Linked DNA regions of Homo sapiens: regions 1 and 2 are each linked to region 3. Evidence: promoter capture Hi-C in human tissues and cell types (Jung and others, 2019). All regions are on one chromosome and are shown on one strand. Each heading gives the region's core, a stretch centred on a gene start or on the middle of the fragment in contact. The rest is flanking DNA. Distances are from core to core; before and after follow the strand shown. Region 1 has its middle 9.2 kb from the start of SRSF1. Region 2 overlaps VEZF1 (vascular endothelial zinc finger 1). Region 3 holds the start of SUPT4H1 (SPT4 homolog, DSIF elongation factor subunit).

What was found. The method cuts DNA at HindIII sites, captures the fragments that hold promoters and counts their contacts. A contact is called where the count stands out against the background at its distance.
Region 1: a fragment that was not itself captured here is called in contact with the fragment with the promoter of SUPT4H1 in region 3 in 1 of the 25 tissues and cell types used here (hippocampus).
Region 2: a contact is called between a fragment that was not itself captured here and the fragment with the promoter of SUPT4H1 in region 3, in 1 of the 25 tissues and cell types used here (dorsolateral prefrontal cortex).

Annotation. Positions count from the first base shown.
Region 1 is chr17:57,996,091-57,999,978 of GRCh38, reverse strand. It overlaps a transcript of SRSF1 not described here. Among named protein-coding and RNA genes, the nearest start is that of SRSF1, 9.2 kb to the left of the region's middle. The HindIII fragment of the contact is 5,520 bases long and covers 1-3,888 here.
Region 2 is chr17:57,978,684-57,983,093 of GRCh38, reverse strand. VEZF1 (vascular endothelial zinc finger 1) reads left to right here. Exons shown (of 6, transcript NM_007146.3): 2 at 1-395; 3 at 1,158-1,221; 4 at 2,308-2,491; 5 at 3,781-3,942. Among named protein-coding and RNA genes, the nearest start is that of VEZF1, 7.4 kb to the left of the region's middle. The HindIII fragment of the contact is 6,153 bases long and covers 1-4,410 here.
Region 3 is chr17:58,349,625-58,353,593 of GRCh38, reverse strand. It overlaps SUPT4H1 (SPT4 homolog, DSIF elongation factor subunit), which reads left to right and starts at 1,393. Exons shown (of 5, transcript NM_003168.3): 1 at 1,393-1,527; 2 at 2,086-2,192. The coding sequence starts at 1,459. TSPOAP1-AS1 (TSPOAP1, SUPT4H1 and RNF43 antisense RNA 1) reads right to left here. Exons shown (of 5, transcript NR_038410.1): 4 at 1,680-1,850; 5 at 1-1,595. It also overlaps a transcript of RNF43 not described here. RefSeq lists an enhancer at 77-612 and silencers at 1,000-1,429, 1,710-1,819. The HindIII fragment of the contact is 5,411 bases long and covers 1-3,969 here.

The DNA of each region.
Region 1 (3,888 bases), core at 680-3,179, 350 kb after region 3:
GTTTAGGTAAGCAAAACAACACTTAGTTCAGCTTGATACTCAAGCATCGGGTTAAAAAGCATCAGACTTCTGTTACCAGACAACTTATAAGTGCCAACTATTGGTAGAACTGTGGACATGAAGATAGTGGAAACAGCTTCTCTAGGATGCTATACTCATCTCCACCAAATGCACTTTGAACAAAAACAACTTGTAGAAATAGGTCTTAATTTTTTTTGTTTGTTTGTTTGGTTTTTTTACAACATGCTGTACTGCTCTCCATTGGTAAGTGCTAGGGAAAATCACTTAGCCACTAGAGGGAGCTATAACACAAAATTAAGCAGGAAATAATCCCCATTATAGATACATAGAACAAAGTAGAGACCAGCTAACTACCTTGATCCTCTGTATCAGCTCTAAAGTTAGATGGTTTGGGTAAGTTTTCTTGCAACTTTACCTTTGTCTTCCCATCTTTTGTGTAAAATTCTTCCCCTTTTCAGCTTTTGCATCCATTTAGGTTTTCAGAGTTTACCTTACAGGCACTCATTTTGTAACAAATCTAGGTTCTGGGACTAAGAAAATACTGAAGACATAAGTCTGCTTGTTTTTCTGCCTACCTTGTACATCAGGTATGGAATAATAAGGCCATGAATGTGAGAATTGGGAACAGGAGTTAGGTGTGCTGGGGAAAACTAGACATAACAATTTGGTTATGAACTAGAAGAAATGAATATGCTTTTAGAGACCTGCAGTTTGCTTTTATGGAGTGACAGTTTCAGGTGTGATGATCTTCTCAGTATTACTAAGAGGTTCTTAAAGTTTGTCTTAAAATCCTACTTATGTGTCAGCTTAGCTGTTTTCTATTTTCTAGGCCTCACTTAAGTAGCAGGTTGTCTTGTGATCAAAAAGTCAGTAGACACAGTAGTTAATGCCATATTAACAGCTGAAAATTACTGAAAATTTAACACTTTTAGTATCTGTCATTCCCATCACCGCTTTCTCCCCAGGTTTCTTTTATAAAAAATGGAAAGGACACAAACTTGTCTCCTGTTTACAGTATAAATTGTCATTGAGAATACTAAACCTTTTAGGCCCATATGATGGGATTTAGTCATCCAGAAGACAGGTGTGGGACAACTGGCCTTAAAATGTTAATTTTAGAAAATCAGTCTGTTTCAAAGAATAAAGCACTAAAAGTGGACAAAGTGGACTTCTTGTGGGGGGAAAAGTAATCAAGTTTACACAGTAGAGATTTCCCTGCCTGCTAAGGTAACACTAAGTAGCAAGGAAAGCTACAGAAGGTAGTTACTGTTAACTAGTAGTCTTGCTGCAAATTGGATTGACAGCTGAAAGGGCACTAACTAGATTGAAGCCTGTCTTTAATCCTGTAAATGTTAGCTCTGGTGTCCCTTTGATAATTTTTAAATAACTTTTGAAGATGCACTCTGAAGCCACAAATTAGGCAAATGAAAATTCAGAATTCTCCTTGTAGAAAGAAAAGTGCTAAACCTGGAGATTGTAAAGTGCTAAGAAAAACCATGGTAGAATTGTTCCCTCAGGTGCTGTGTATTAGAGGAGGAGTCTTTATATGTCATTTTGGGATAAGCTTTCAACAATTATTAAGGCTTAATACATAAGATTATAGGATCAGTCAAGCAAAAGGGAAGGTATAACCTTTAGATAGGACTGGGAAGTGCTGGGTGAATGTCTTCTACCCTTAACGGTGGTAGAAATTTGAACTATAAAATAACACCAAGAGTGACATTCACATTTTTTTTGTCTTTGTTTTTGACACAGGGTCTCACTCTGTCACCCAGGCTGGAGTGTAGTGGCACAATCTCGGCTCACTGCAACCTCCGCCTCCCGGGTTCAAGCGATTCTCCTGCCTCCCAAGTAGCTGGTATTACAGGTGCCCATCACCACACCTGGCTAATTTTTGTATTTTTCATAGAGACAGGGTTTCACTATGTTGGCTCAGCTGGTCTCTGAACTTCTGATCTCAAGTGATCCGCCCGCCTCGGCCTCCCAAAGTGCTGGGAATACAGGTGTGAGCCAGCGCACCTGGCTGACATCCACAACTTAAGGCTAGAAATGTAAAATGTTGGTTCGCAGTGTAACAAGCACATTCCAAAGAAAACTCAAATGGCTCCTTTGTACTCTAAAAATAGTAAATTTGCAGCAAGGTGATAGTCAAGTTCTGTGTCTTCAGGGTGCCACCGCATCTATGATTTAGATTAACCTAGAGATGTGTTTACTTGCCAAATAGAGTTCTTCAAGATGCTGTTTGGATTTGTCTTCCCATCTCCAGTTGCCATATCAGCATTTTTGTCTGTACCCAAATTCATATTACTGAAGTGTTAAAGCTGGTTTCAGTGACTCCAGATCCTTAAAACATGTCACTCCCTTAATATGAGTTAACAATGGGTTATATTCTACCTTTCCAATTTATCCTGTTCTCAATCACATCTTCCCCTACCCTGGTTGATTTGGTAAATACATGTATTTTTTAACTCTACAGACCCAGGAACTGAATATATTTATATTTCCCAATGAGCTAAATGCAGTGCTGACAGTTTTAATATTGATGGGCGAGATGGGAAGAATTTAGTATTCCCTAAAAGCAAAGCACTGTAGAAGTCTGTTTCACAAGCTATTCGTTAACTGGGTGGATTATTGGAGAAGGTATTTTAATACTAATAACTCCTCAGATGTGAAGCCAGAAAATTTGAATTAATCTAAATGCTAGCCTAAGTCCAAGTATAATTGGATAAGTAAATGTTGCTCCCAGAATTGGTCTTGCAAAGTAAGACCAATTGTAAGACCAAAGTAAGTGGTTTTGATGTAAGCTGTGCACACTTTCAGTACAGATCACCAAGAATTGATGACATTGTCTCCAAAAAGACTAAATAGTTGCCTCCTAGGTATCCTTTTTCAGTCATTCTCTTTTAAGCTTCTTACAGAGGAAGCTTTAAGTTGCCTCAGAATTTAGTGGTATTGCCTCAATGAGAATTCCTGCATATTTCTCTTTGGGATGGAATCATTTTGGTTGTTTTTTTGTTGTTGGTAACTATTCATAAAGAGATTAATACATAACGATGTATTGTGAAGAGACTAGATAGCATGTATATTATTCCTTGGGTTGGGAGTCTTAAGCATTAACTTTAGGACCCTGACCCTGGTCTTTAGGTTTATAGGATCAGCTAGCTTAAACAATTCTCTCAAAACCAAGAGACCCAGCATCCATACATTTTAACACCCCACATCATAAATCCCATAAGCAGCCCCATTCCTTTTGCCATTAAAAATCTCACCCCTTCATGATCACACCTAATGACTGAAGCATTCTTGAACTAATTGCGTTGTTTCTTATTTGCTTTTCTTCATGTTTTAAAAAGTGCTATATGTGCAGGTGGACATGTTGCCCTTAAGCTGTTCTCTAGTTTAATGTGTATGCTTTGTTTTCTTCAGCTACATAGTAAACTGAGAGCAAAGGCTGTTTTTTTTTTTTTTTTTTTTAAGACAGTGTCTTGCACTGTCACCTGGGCTGGAGTGCAGTGGCGCAGTCTCGGCTCACTGCAACCTCCACCTCCTGGGTTCAAGCGATTCTCCTGCCTCAGCCTCCCAAGTAGCAGGGATTACAGGCACCTGCCACCACACCTAGCTAATTTTTTGTATTTTTAGTAGAGACAGGGTTTCACTATGTTGGCCAGGCTGGTCTCAAACTCCTGACCTCGTGATCTGCCCGCTTCGGCCTCCCAAAGTGCTGGGATTACAGGCATAAGCCACCGCGCCCGGCTCCCCAAAGTCTTATGTTTTAAACTTTTTGACATTTCTTCTAAGATGTCCAGAATGCTAGTACCTGCACCTTAATAAATGTTTGTGAATAAATACATTATTGAAATCTTAGGC
Region 2 (4,410 bases), core at 413-2,912, 370 kb after region 3:
GTGGTTCCCCTTATCTCTACCATCGCTGGGGACAGCAGCCGAACTTCGTTGGTCTCGACCATTGCAGGCATCTTGTCAACAGTCACTACATCTTCCTCGGGCACCAACCCCAGTAGCAGTGCCAGCACCACAGCTATGCCAGTGACCCAGTCTGTCAAGAAACCCAGTAAGCCTGTCAAGAAGAACCATGCTTGTGAGATGTGTGGGAAGGCCTTCCGAGATGTGTACCATCTCAATCGACACAAGCTCTCCCATTCAGATGAGAAACCCTTTGAGTGTCCTATTTGTAATCAGCGCTTCAAGAGGAAGGACCGGATGACTTACCATGTGAGGTCTCATGAAGGAGGCATCACCAAACCCTATACTTGCAGTGTTTGTGGGAAAGGCTTCTCAAGGTACTGCATTTTGCTTTGCTTTGCTTTGCTTCATTATGGTATCAGTGTACTTCAGTTTTGTCTCCATGTGATCTAGAATGTTTATGTGAGAACAGATGTGGGCAGACCTGTGTTATTAGAGGAGATTGGTGATAGATAAGTATTAACACCTCCAGGTCTAACCTCAGTTTGGTGTGATTGACAAGTGGTGACATAGTGATTAACCTGTTTTTTTCACTTAACAAGTGCCTCGGTGGACTCAGGCTTTCATTTGGCACATGGATACTTATCACTGCAAAACCACCAGTTTTCAGTTCAGTTGGGGGACTAGACATGAGGCTCACTGGGCAAATTAAAGTAACATTTCTTGGAAGTTGGGATGACCTTGGATACTCTTAATTAAACTTTTAGAATGTTTTTTCATTTTTCTGAGAGCACCAACATTTCACTAATTTTCATTTATAAAAGCTTTTAGAGTTAATATAGTGGTAGCTGTTTCTGGCAAGTGTTAAGACTAAAACTTCGGGTATTTTGTAATTGTAAAGAATCAAGACCTAATATGATTTGATGTTGACTAGGAGAGAAAATTAACAGGTAGAGGCCTAAGACTTTGTTCATGGTAAGAGAGGGAAGGAGACTTGCACCGGGGGAGGGAGGTTGGTAATTCTGCTAGCTTTCCCTAAAATGCACCCCTTCCCAATCTGCCAAGCATGTGAGCATCACATAAGTAGCATTTCTCTATGTGTTCGATTATATCTTCTGTTGAAACTCTCTTTTTCACAGGCCTGACCACTTAAGCTGTCATGTAAAACATGTCCATTCAACAGAAAGACCCTTCAAATGCCAAGTAAGAGTTAAAATGACTTATCCTTAGTGTAGCACTTAATGCACATTATCCAGAAGGTCTGAGCCAGTTGAATCTCACCATTCTTGAATAGTCTTAAAATCACTGACCTGAGTAAATGTGGCCCATTTGACTTCTAGTTTTATAAAATATAACTGACAGCTTCTGTTTCTGTAAAGCAAGATCATTTAAAAATTTAAGCGTGTTGTTTTTTTTAAGCTATATTTCCCTTTCTTTGGGCAATAGTATTTTTTGTTAGGAAAAAAAAGTTACAGTCTTGCAAAGGTGGTTGTGTATTTGAAATGAATAAAAGAATAAAGGGCTTTAATTTCTGGGTTGATTATTGAAGTTGTTTTAACTGTAATAGGAGAAAATAATGAATTTTTCTCCCAAATGTTACCACTTACTAGATTTTTGTTTGTTATTACCAAATTGGAACACTTTCTAGTTGTTTAAAAATCTATTCCAGTTAATGATTTTATTTGACATCAATTATAATAACGAAAACATTAAGAATTTTGCTAAATCAAATGACTGTTTTAGGCATTGGTAATTTTAGTTTGTTGCTGGAAGTCTTTTAGTACACCTTTCAGTTAAGTTTGTTAATGACTGATTTTATTAAGTAAATGATTTGAATGCTAAGAAAGATCTAATTGGAGGAAGGAAGCTAGTGTCATTGAGTGAGTGCCTGCTGTGTATACCAGGCTTTTCTTAATCCACCAGTAATTTTGTGAGAGATGTTATCCCCATTTTACAGATGAAGAAGCTTTCAGATAGGTTAACCAACTTGTTCAACATTACACCATTTAGTAAATTGTGGAGCTCAACTTAAACCCAGGTTTAACTTACCCTAAAGCTTACATTTTTTGTGCTACTCTGTGTTGATGTATTTTCTTCCTTCAAAATGGAAGAGTCTAAAATTTATCAAGAGTTTTATTATGATTATGATTCTAGGTAACATATGCAATTAAAATTCAACTAGTTGTCAGCTTGCTGATGTGGATAGGGTAATGCACAGAATATAACGTACTTCAAAATGAGTAGAACAGGATAGTCTATATTTAAAAAAAGTTTTCCTCCCTCATGCAGACGTGCACTGCTGCCTTTGCCACCAAAGACAGACTGCGGACACACATGGTGCGCCATGAAGGCAAGGTATCATGTAACATCTGTGGGAAGCTCCTGAGTGCAGCATACATCACCAGCCACTTAAAGACTCATGGGCAGAGCCAAAGTATCAACTGTAATACATGTAAACAAGGCATCAGTAAAAGTAGGTGGTGCTTCAGATTTTCTTTCTTTTATATTTCAGATGGGTGAAATATGCATGTTTTCATATTGTATCAAAGGTATTAATATTCACCTTACGTGTTTCCTCCTATTGCCAACATGTGCAAACAGGCAACAATGGACAGAGTATATTAATGTCAGAACTATGCTTTACTTTCATGTATGCAAACAGCATTGATAAGCTAATAATAACCTTTAAGGTGAAAGCAGTATTAATAAGCTTGCTTTTCAAACCCAAATCTGTAGAGAAATGAGATATCATATCCACTTGAAGGTTTAAATGCTTTGCTTGCCTTAAATTCAGAGTTGAAGATAGAATACTTGCATTTACCCAGGCTTTTTCTTTTAAGATTGCCCTAACCACTAGAAGAAGGCATTTTCCTAATCCTTTATTCTATTATATATGTACTTTATGCAGTAGAAACATCAAATTCTCAAAAAAATAGGTGGCCACAAGAGAATGGGGAAGAAAGCTTAATGTGTGTTAATCTATCCATTTTTACTTCTTTGTAAGTACACTGGGTTTGTAAGTACACTTCTTTGTAAGTACACTGGTATGTTGTACTTTATAAGCATTCACTTCTGTTTTTTTTGTTTTTTTTTTTTTTTTTTTTTGAGACGGAGTCTTCACACTGTTGCCCAGGCTGAAGTGCAATGGCACGATCTCGGCTCACTGCAACCTCCGCCTCCTGGGTTCAAGCGATTCTCCTGCCTCAGCCTCCCAAGTAACTGGGATTACAGGTGCACACTGCCATGCCCGATTACCTTTGCTACTTTTTTTGTATTTTCATAGAGACGGCGTTTCACCGTGTTGCCCAGGCTGGTCTCGAACTCCTGAGCCCAGACAGTCCACCTGCCTCGGCCTCCCAAAGTGCTAGGATTACAGGCATGAGCCACTGCACCCGGCCTATAAACATTCACTTTTAGTGTACATTATTGTGATCAAATAAAAAATTTTGTTGAATGTTGATTAGTCCTATATTAATAATATCAAACTTCCATTTTTAAAGACACTTGCTTTTTTTTTTTTTGATGGTTTTTTTTTTATAGCAAAGAGTCCTTTTCTCTTTTATATTGATTTTTGCTAGTTCTCTAGACTTTTTAGTGCTTGTTTATTTTGACCAATATAGACACAGCAGCAAAAAAGATGCACTTACTAAGAGCTATCAGGTTAAATGGTTAAGATCACAGAAGCATGAGAAGTCAATTTTGAAAAAAAACGGCAACAGTTTTACAGGTAGATACAGTGTTTTTGGTTTGTCTTTGTAATAGCATGCATGAGTGAAGAGACCAGTAACCAAAAGCAGCAGCAGCAGCAGCAGCAGCAGCAGCAGCAGCAGCAACAACAACAACAACAACATGTGACAAGCTGGCCAGGGAAGCAAGTAGAAACACTGAGACTGTGGGAAGAAGCTGTTAAAGCAAGGAAGAAAGGTAAGGCACAGCTTCCAGTGTTGAAAATATGGCTAGAGAAGTGTTTTCATTTAGTATGCCAAGTGATCAAAGTAGAGAAGCCACAGTTTTAGGAAATCTAGCTTAATGGAAACATGGAAATAGTGCATGCTGGGAAATATCTGGTAAAGTATAGTTATTGGCAATAAAGTGTCCAGATAAGTTATTACTAGGAATTAAAAGTTCTCAGTACTTCCTATCATGTTCTTTCTTTTGATGTACTTTTTGCTACAAACCTGGATCCAAATTTGGTCCTTTGCTATGCTCAGAGTTGCATTTTTATATTCAATTTGATGTCAACCTCCATGCATTATGGGCTTTTTTTTTCCTTTCTAAAATATTCCCACTTTTAGAGGTGGATATCCTTGTGTGTACATAAGTTCATTTTCTTACAACTGTGCTATTTTTGCTCTGTAGTGTTCTTTTTCATTGTATTATTTATTACATGTT
Region 3 (3,969 bases), core at 144-2,643:
AATTATTTATGTTATCAGAGGCTAGGCTCCGATTCATGAAAGGATAGGGTAGAGTAGAGGGCTTGGCAATAAGAACTGGTTTGTAAGCCCCTAAAAGTGTGGCTTAGTGAGATCAGGGAAGGAGAAAGCATGACTGGATTCTTACTGTGCTTCAGTCATTATTATTATACTGTTCACTTCACACATTATCATACTTCAGTGACTCAGACCTTGGGCAAATACTCTGTGCCTCGCTTTTTCAGTCCATAAAATGGGCCTACTTAATAGTTGTTGCAGGACTTACATGAGATAATAGAGTGTAGAAAATATGTTCCAAAGTGGAAAGTTTTATTCAGTGATAGAAAACATCCAAACCTGTCACAGAGCCCATCTGAACACAGCATGGGACCGCCAACAAGAAGAAAGCCCGCCCGGAAGCAGCTCAATCAGGAGGCTGGGCTGGAATGACAGCGCAGCGGGGCCTGAAACTATTTATATCCCAAAGCTCCTCTCAGATAAACACAAATGACTGCGTTCTGCCTGCACTCGGGCTATTGCGAGGACAGAGAGCTGGTGCTCCATTGGCGTGAAGTCTCCAGGGCCAGAAGGGGCCTTTGTCGCTTCCTCACAAGGCACAAGTTCCCCTTCTGCTTCCCCGAGAAAGGTTTGGTAGGGGTGGTGGTTTAGTGCCTATAGAACAAGGCATTTCGCTTCCTAGACGGTGAAATGAAAGGGAAAAAAAGGACACCTAATCTCCTACAAATGGTCTTTAGTAAAGGAACCGTGTCTAAGCGCTAAGAACTGCGCAAAGTATAAATTATCAGCCGGAACGAGCAAACAGACGGAGTTTTAAAAGATAAATACGCATTTTTTTCCGCCGTAGCTCCCAGGCCAGCATTCCTGTGGGAAGCAAGTGGAAACCCTATAGCGCTCTCGCAGTTAGGAAGGAGGGGTGGGGCTGTCCCTGGATTTCTTCTCGGTCTCTGCAGAGACAATCCAGAGGGAGACAGTGGATTCACTGCCCCCAATGCTTCTAAAACGGGGAGACAAAACAAAAAAAAACAAACTTCGGGTTACCATCGGGGAACAGGACCGACGCCCAGGGCCACCAGCCCAGATCAAACAGCCCGCGTCTCGGCGCTGCGGCTCAGCCCGACACACTCCCGCGCAAGCGCAGCCGCCCCCCCGCCCCGGGGGCCCGCTGACTACCCCACACAGCCTCCGCCGCGCCCTCGGCGGGCTCAGGTGGCTGCGACGCGCTCCGGCCCAGGTGGCGGCCGGCCGCCCAGCCTCCCCGCCTGCTGGCGGGAGAAACCATCTCCTCTGGCGGGGGTAGGGGCGGAGCTGGCGTCCGCCCACACCGGAAGAGGAAGTCTAAGCGCCGGAAGTGGTGGGCATTCTGGGTAACGAGCTATTTACTTCCTGCGGGTGCACAGGCTGTGGTCGTCTATCTCCCTGTTGTTCTTCCCATCGGCGAAGATGGCCCTGGAGACGGTGCCGAAGGACCTGCGGCATCTGCGGGCCTGTTTGCTGTGTTCGCTGGTCAAGGTGTCAGTCGGGGACCTGGTTGTAGGGCCCATGGGGGACCAAGGTCGGGGAAAGAGGGCGGAATGGGGCTGTGGGACAGTAAAGAGAAAAGTTAAGTCTCAGAACTCAGAGGTGGCAGGGGGAGTGAGAAGCCGAAGGAGGCCATCGTTTACCTCGTAGGATCGCGGACAGGTCTTGCAGCTGAGGGCAGGGGCGGTCTTACATGCCTTTGAATCCTCAGCTCTTAGACGTTCGGTGAACTTACGTTGGAGCCGAAAGACACTGGGAGTCAGAGGCGGGTGGGGATCCGCTGCTGAGTGAGTAGTCGGAAAGGATGCCTGACCCTGAGTAGACTAGAGAAAGGAATAGATAAAACGGAATTGGGAACGAGAGAGGAAGGAGTGGGAGGGTGGGACTTAGGAATGAAGCTTTGAGAGTAGTAGGTGGGGAACCTTAGGATACACAGTCAACATAGGGAAACAAGAAATTGAGCAGGTCGAAGTATTGAGAAAGCTACTTTTTCTCTTGGTCTTGTTCATGCTTATCTCTCCTTTTCCTTTATTTTTCTTTCACTCCCAGACTATAGACCAGTTTGAATATGATGGTTGTGACAATTGTGATGCATATCTACAAATGAAGGGTAACCGAGAGATGGTATATGACTGCACTAGCTCTTCCTTTGATGGGTAAGCCGCTTCAGTTTCCATCATTCACTTCTGCATTACCCAACCTGCACCCAGAGAAGTAAATGCAGGGCAAGTGTTAATCCTAGTTGGGCCCAGCCATTCGTTTTTGGGGGTTATTTTGTGTGGGTTTTTTTTTTTTTTTTTTTTTTTGAATCAGGGTTTTGCTCTGTGGCTCAGGCTGGAGTGCAGTGGCATGATCATAGCTCACTGCAGCGTGGAATGATCCTCTGACTTCAACCTCCCAGAGTGCTGGGATTATAGGTGTAAGCCACTGTGTCCAGCCTCAACAGTTATTTTGGGACATACTAGTGCTATGCATCTAATACAGTGACCACTATCCACGTGTAGCTACTGAGCACTTGAAATGTGTCTAGTCCAAATTAAGACATGCTTTTAAGTATAAAATATACCCCAGATTTCAAAGACTTAACATGAGAAGAAAGAATGTAATCTTAATAATGTTTGTTAAATGCATGAAAATTTTTTTTGAAAATGAAGGGAAGGGAGGTGTAGTAATGGTAGATCATTGCCCAAAAGCTGTTGCTTTTTTTTTTTTTTTTTTTTTGGACAGACTTTTCGCCCTTGCCACTCATGCTGGAGTGCAATGGTGCAGTCTCGGCTCACTGCAACCTCTGCCTCCTGGGTTCAAGCAATTCTCCTGCCTCAGCCTCTTGAGTAGCTGGGATTACAGGCACCCACCACCACTCCCAGCTAATTTTTATATCTTTAGTAGAGACGGGGTTTCACCATGTTGGCCAGGCTGGTCTCAAACTCCTGACCTCAGGTGATCTGCCCACCTCGGCCTCTCATAGTGCTGGGATTACAAGTATGAGTCACCATGCCCGGCCCATTTTAGCCATTTTACTTATTTATTTATTTATTTATTTATTTGAGATGGAGTCTCGCTCTGTCGCCCAGGCTGGAGTGCAGTGGCGCAATCTCGGCTCACTGCAACCTCCGCCTCCCAGGTTCAAGCAGTTCTCTGCCTCAGCCTCCTGAGTAGCTGGGATTACAGGCACCTGCCACCATACCCAGCTAATTTTTGTATTTTTAGTAGAGACGGGGTTTCACCATGTTGGTCAGACTGGTCTTGAACTGCTGACCTCGTGATCCACCCGCCTCGGCCTCCCAAAGTGCTGGGATTACAGGAGTGAGCCACAGCGCCCGGCTGCAATGGCACGATCTCAGCTCACTGCAACCTCCGCCTCCTACCTCAGCCTCCTGAGTAGCTGGGATTACAGGCGCCCACCACCACGCCCAGCTAATTTTTGTACTTTTTTTAGTAGAGACAGGGTTTTGCCATGCTGGCCAGGCTGGTCTCGAACTCCTGACCTCAGGTGATCCTCCCGTCTCAGCCTCACAAAGTGCTGGGATTACAGGCATGAGCCACTGTGCCCGGTCGCCATTTCTAAATACACAATTCAGTGGCATTAGTGCATACTCACTGTTGTGCAACCGTCACCACCATCCATCTCCAGAACTTTTTTCATCTGTACCCATTAAACACTAGCTCCTCGTTCTCTCCTCCCTCCTGTCCCTGACAACCACCATGCTTTGTCTCTATGAATTTGGCCACCTTAGGCACCCTTAGGTACCTATGGGCTCATTCAGTAGCATTTTTTAGCTTCTTTCACCAACATAATGTCTTCAAGGTTCATTCATATTGTAGTATGCAACAGAATTTCCCTCCTCTTTTGAGCTGAATAATATTCCCTTGTATGTGTATAGCATGTTCTGCTGCCCATTCATTCATCAATGATATCTTGGGTTGTTTCTC